2 separate regions of the Homo sapiens genome follow, and region 2 is linked to region 1. Evidence: promoter capture Hi-C in 16 types of primary human blood cells and fetal thymus (Javierre and others, 2016). All regions are on one chromosome and are shown on one strand. The core of a region is centred on a gene start or on the middle of the fragment in contact, and the rest is flanking DNA. Distances in the headings are between cores, read along the strand shown.

Evidence for each region. Contacts are between HindIII fragments. The CHiCAGO score rates a contact against its expected background, and 5 or more counts as called.
Region 2: a fragment that was not itself captured here is called in contact with the fragment with the promoter of SLC25A37 in region 1 in 1 of 17 cell types (neutrophils); the score reaches 5.2 in neutrophils.

The regions. Positions count from the first base shown.
Region 1 is chr8:23,527,599-23,530,618 of GRCh38, forward strand. It overlaps SLC25A37 (solute carrier family 25 member 37), which reads left to right and starts at 1,358. Exons shown (of 4, transcript NM_016612.4): 1 at 1,358-1,614. The coding sequence starts at 1,405. RefSeq lists enhancers at 1,052-1,101, 2,392-2,461 and silencers at 1,232-1,591, 1,642-1,891. The HindIII fragment of the contact is 6,335 bases long and covers 1-3,020 here.
Region 2 is chr8:23,070,306-23,073,091 of GRCh38, forward strand. It overlaps the pseudogene TNFRSF10B-AS1. Among named protein-coding and RNA genes, the nearest start is that of TNFRSF10B, 2.7 kb to the left of the region's middle. RefSeq lists enhancers at 1-225, 547-1,046. The HindIII fragment of the contact is 2,999 bases long and covers 9-2,786 here.

The DNA of each region.
Region 1 (3,020 bases), core at 108-2,607:
AGGGCATCCACTTAAAAATAAGGATCAACAGCTTCTGATCAGTATTTCTTAAAAACGACCTTTGACAAAAGTAGAGTTTTCTCTAGCCATTACAGAGATGGCTAAGTAAAAACACAGAGCCTGTTTTTACTTATCACATCCTTAGCACTCAGCTTGCCAGCTACTATCTGCAGCTACCAAAACTAGGCAAACAGTGCTCTTGGTCCTGACGCCTCTATTGACCTCTACCCATGCTCACATTACTGTATCTCAAATCCCTAAGAGCTGCTTGGGATGCTGATCACGGTGAGGGCAGAGAGTAGGCTCAGCCTCTTCAGGGTCTTCCCCACCCTTTCATATCTCAGGATCCAGCTTTCCTGACGAGAAGCCTTGTCTAGATAAGGCAGGGAGGCCCTGGTGCCTACAAGTTGATCAGCCCAAGTCATCTTAAGCCCTGGAACACGCAATTTAGACGGACACTTCCAGAGGCAGACAGGTCCCTCCCCTACTTTCTGATTTCTCCCTTTTTCCCCAGACTGGAGCAAAACAATATTAAAACAGCCTGGGTTACACTTTATTGAAGAGGCCAGCTTAGGACGACTTTAAGAACTAGGTGACCACAGTCTTAAGACAGGCAGGGGCAAGGCTGTAAGATTTTACTCTCAGCCAGTTCACACTCCTAACTGTGAGATCAGGCCTCTACAGACCTTATGGGCCTATCAAACCCAAAGAAAATTTCCTGGAGGTGCCTACTCAGAGGGGCTCCCTCCTGGTCACTCCTTATAGCCTTGCTCGGTCCAGGGCAGGGTGGGTTCGGTCTCTCGGTGAGAACAAGAGGAACACATTTAGCTCTGCATTATGTATTTAGGTTGAGAGAAACAATTTCGAATGAATGGGGGTCTCTCCAACAAAGCAGTCTAGAACGGGCCCCTGAGGTTTGAATTCAGGCCTTAGGAATGCCAAAGCTCACTGAGCGATTCTGTTTGCAAACCCACCCGCCACGGGGACGGATTTTCCCCGAGACACTGTCACCCATGCCTCCAGCTCTGGGCATACCCCACTGCGGCCCCTCCCCAATGACCTCCCCTGCCCCTCGCGGACCAGCCCATCCTCAAGATAGTACAACTTTCCGGGCCACCCCACGTCTCCTCTCGCCCCCGTCCGGTTGCTTGGAAATGTGCACGGGACGGTGACGTCACACAGGGAGGCGGGTCCCCACTGTCCCGCACACCAATGGCGCGGCGGCCGCCGGCCTCTTGGTTCCCGGCGATTGGTGTCTCTGGCCGCTGCGCTCCACCCCAGCCCGCCATGGCGTCAGGCGCCGCGGCCCCGGGGAGGTGGCTCCCACTTTAAGAAGTGAAGTTTTGCGCCCCTCCCCCTCCCTGCCCACCTCCTGCAGCCTCCTGCGCCCCGCCGAGCTGGCGGATGGAGCTGCGCAGCGGGAGCGTGGGCAGCCAGGCGGTGGCGCGGAGGATGGATGGGGACAGCCGAGATGGCGGCGGCGGCAAGGACGCCACCGGGTCGGAGGACTACGAGAACCTGCCGACTAGCGCCTCCGTGTCCACCCACATGACAGCAGGAGCGATGGCCGGGATCCTGGAGCACTCGGTCATGTACCCGGTGGACTCGGTGAAGGTGAGGCGCGGGGAGACTTCGGGGACGCAACGAGCGGAGAAGGAGCGCGCGCGCGCATTTGCATCCCGCGCGCCGGCAGCCTCGGGGCAGCGTCCCGAAACCGAGCTCTCCCCAGGACCGCGGCTGGCCGGGGTCGCCCCAGGAGCAGCTGCGCGCAGCCTGGGCGCCGCGCCTTCCGCCGACCCCGCGAGGGTGCCCGGTCCTCGCCCCGCACCGCCCGCTGCTCCAGCCGCGTGCCCGGCCCCGGCTGCTGGCGGCGCTGAGGCGGGGGAGGCGGAGTGGCGAGCACCGCTGGCTTCGGCGGCGACTGGGCTCCCGGGGGACGCGATCGCTGAAGCTCTGCACAGTCTTACCACGCTGGCCGTTCGGGCTGGCTGGGGCCGCCCACACGTGCGCGGTTTCCGAGGGAGCTCCCCGCAGGGGAAGCCCTCACCACGCTGGAGCTGAGAAACGTGTGGCCCTGGCCCGGCCGCGCGCCCTCGGGACTTGGTGTGTGGCTGCTGCTCCCCGGGTTATTTCGGGAACTTGGGGCCGGCAAGTCTTCTCTCGACTAGTGGCAGCTCTTTACCGGTTCGACAGCGGCCCGTGGGATCCCCTTTCTGAGGGTTCCTGCACTTCTTCCCCCGACTTTGGGTCGCCGAGCCGCCGGGAGGCAATGACGTTTGCCTTCTCCTTTTGCTTGCGGGGAGGTGGGTGGGCTTGTGCCTTACAGCCCTTGCTGTGGATTGTGTGAGAGGCACTCAGTTTCCTTTAAACCCTGTCTGTCACTTGCCCCGGTAGTTTTAACTGCATTTCTGTAAAGAGGCAGCGTTACTAGGTGCGTTTTGCCTGGTAGACTGAGACCTGCCCTCTGTCAGCCTGCCCAGAACACCCCAGGGCCAGGATAGAGTAGTGCAGGAAGTAATGCCAGTATTGACTGTTACACGTTGCACTTTTATAGGCATAACTCGCCTAATTCATGCAACAGCCCTGGGGGTTAACAGATGAAGAAACTGAGGCGCAGAGAGGCGAACCGATTACCTTGCCCAGGCTCCTACACCACCTCCTATCCTCTGGCTGCAGCTGCAGTGTGCTTTGGAGGATTCGGAGGCCTCTCTAGGTGGCAATTATTTTGCAAGGCAGGTCCCACAGAGGCACCCCCAGCAGCTTTATCTTGTTGCTGATGCTGGTCCTGCATGAGCAGGTATGAAGGCCAGAAAGTATAACTCAGAGGGTTTTCCCGGCTCCGGGGAGCTCGCTTGGAGCCAGCAGTCAGTGTCTGGACAGGCAGAAGTCCAGTGAGGAAAGACATGGGCTTCCAAGGTGCTGCTGGACCTAAGCCTGAGCCATCACCCATATGTCCCTCCAGTGTCCCAGTGGGGAGTTAGAGGAATGGTTCTCATCTCCAGGAAAGACACTGGACTGAT
Region 2 (2,786 bases), core at 258-2,757, 460 kb before region 1:
AAGAAGGAAGCTTCCACAGTGTTACCACTGCTGGCTCTGGCAGCCTGCTTTTATTCTCTTATCTGGCCCCACCCACACCCTGCTGATTGGTAGAGCGGAGTGGTCTGTTTTGACAGGGCGCTGATTGGTGGTTTACAATCCCTGAGCTAGACACAAATGTTCTCCACTTCCCCACCAGATTAGCTAGATACAGAGTGTGGACACAAAGGTTCTCCAAGGCCCCACCAGACTAGCTAGATACAGAGTGTCAATTGGTGCATTCACAAACCCTGAGCTAGACACACGGTGCTGATTGGTGTGTTTACAAAACTTGAGCTAGATACACAGTGCCAATTGGTGTATTTACAATCCCTTAGCTAAACATAAAGGTTCTCCACGTCCCCACCAGACTCAGGAGCCCAGGTGTCGTCACCCAGTGGATCCCGCACCGGGGTTGCAGGTGGAGCTGCCTGCCAGTCCCGCGCCGTGCTCCCGCGCCGTGCGCCCGCACTCCTCAGCCCTTGGGTGGTCGATGGGACTGGGCGCCCTGGAGCAGGGGGAGGTGCTCGTCGGGGAGGCTCCGGCTGCACAGGAGCCCACGGAGGGGGTGAGAGGCTCAGGCATGGCGGTCCCGAGCCCTGCCCGTCGGGAAGGCAGCTAAGGCCCGGCGAGAAATCAAGCGCAGCGCCAGTGGGCCGGCACTGCTGGGGGACCCAGTACACCCTCCGCAGCCGCTGGCCCGGGTGCTAAACCCCTCATTGCCCGGGGCCGGCAGGGCCGGCCGGCTGCTCCGAGTGCAGGGCCCGCCGAGCCCACGCCCACCCGGAACTCCAGCTGGCCCGCAAGTGCCGCGCGCGCAGCCCCGGTTCCCGCTCGCGCCTCTCCCTCCACACCTCCGTGCAAGCTGAGGGAGCGGGCTCCAGCCTTGGCCAGCCCAGAAAAGGGCTCCCACAGTGCAGCGGTGGGCTGAAGGGCTCCTCAAGTGCCGCCAAAGTGGGAGCCCAGGCAGAGGAGGCGCCGAGAGCGAGCGAGGGCTGTTGAGGACTGCCAGCAAGCTGTCACCTCTCAGTACTACGGATTTTCAAGAATACAGGAGTTTTTGGTACTGGGAGTAGATGACTGGGGGGATCCAGGCAAGACTACAGGGGAGGGCGGCAGAGAAGACTTAATTCCCAGCTGTGTACTTGGAAAACCGTGCTCAGCTGGGGCCAGTCCCTGCCAACCGCCATGCCTGTTAATGGAAATAAGGTCTCCATCCTCAGGCTGTCAGGGTGACTTCAGATGAGCCTGGAGCTGAGCTCAGTTCCGGACCCCAGGTCCTGGCTCTGTCAATGCCGGACTGGTCCAATCTCTATGCCAGGTCCTTCCAACCCCATCCCTCTCTTTATCAAAGTAGGAATCAAGAAGATCCGAAGGCTCAGGCTCTCAGGTTGTTAGAGAGTACTGAAATTGGAGGCTGTGGATGGCTGGGCCCTGCCGTGCTCCCGGTCCAGCTCTGACTCTGGTATGGCCCCAGCTCCTTCCTGTAAAATGAGGGGATAAAAATCTTCAGCAGCCCTGTGTAAACTTCTGCAGGCTCTGTTAACAGGTCTAGGAGGACAAATTGCAGGGCTGGTGTCAGTCACTCTAGACTCTGGATCCCCAGGGCACATGTCCTCCACTCAGCAGAGGCTGCACCTTCTCCTACCTGTACCTCAGTACCAGCTCCCTGAGCTTGAGGCAGAAATTTCTGAAGACTGGGGTGGAGCGCCATGCGGAGGGGCCGTAGAGGAACAGACGAGCCAGAATTCAAATGAGGACGGTGATGGCACTGCAGGGCCACAGCCTGGTTTACCTGCCACTCTTCCAATTGTCTTTCTGTTGGGCACCCAGCCGGTGCCCCAGTTTGAAGAGTGAGCAGGAAAGGTCTCAATCCGTGTGGCCACAGATGGCTGTTCACAGCCTCTACTGAGAGACCACAGTCCCAGTTCCGGTTCTCTGTCCTGCATCCAGAAGTGGCAGGGCAGCGAGGCTCTAGCTTCCAGGTTGGGGATGGGGACAGTGGAGACAGTGCCATGCCCTGAGCCTGTGCTGTTGGGCAGCTGGTGTCCTGCTCCCAGCCAGAGACTGCACATCTTCATGTAGTGGATTTTCCTAACAACCTGGGGACATGAGAGTAGGTTGTTTTCCCTGTTTTACAAGTGGCAAAACTGAGATTCAGGAGCAGTGTCTCCAGCATTTTTGGCCTCACCTTCTGTATAATAGCAGCCATATTTGCACCTCTACAGGGCTAGAGTTCTCTGAGCAGCTGCTTCTCTATTCTCTGTCCTGCACTTGGCCTCTGGGAGCTCGTATGGTTCCTCAGCAGAGTCCACAGGGCCCTCCCTGTGCTACAGCCTGGAGCCTGTCAGGCGGTGAGCTGAAGCCACGACTGCACTCACCTCATGGGTTTGCGGGGAGAATGATTCACCCAGGAAGCAGACAGTGAGCCCTTTACTCTGGGAACACCTGTGCCTGGAGTCTGCTGAAGGCAGGGAGGACAAATGAACCCCATGTGAATCCTACTCCCTGGAGCCTACAGTGTGGTGGGAGAGGTGACACCAGGGGTCATATAACTAATAGGAGGTAGCATGAGGGAGGCCTGAGATCTCACCACCCTTGCCTCCCCCTCCTCCAGAGAGGCTGTGCTGGAGGGAGGCCATGCCATTGCAAGGCCATAGGATGTGGTATTGTTTGCCTGGAAGATGTGGTTTGATTACAGCCACCATTGAGGGTCATGGAGGCAAGCTAAGCTCCCTTTAAGGGTATTTTTTTTTTGGCTGGGCCTG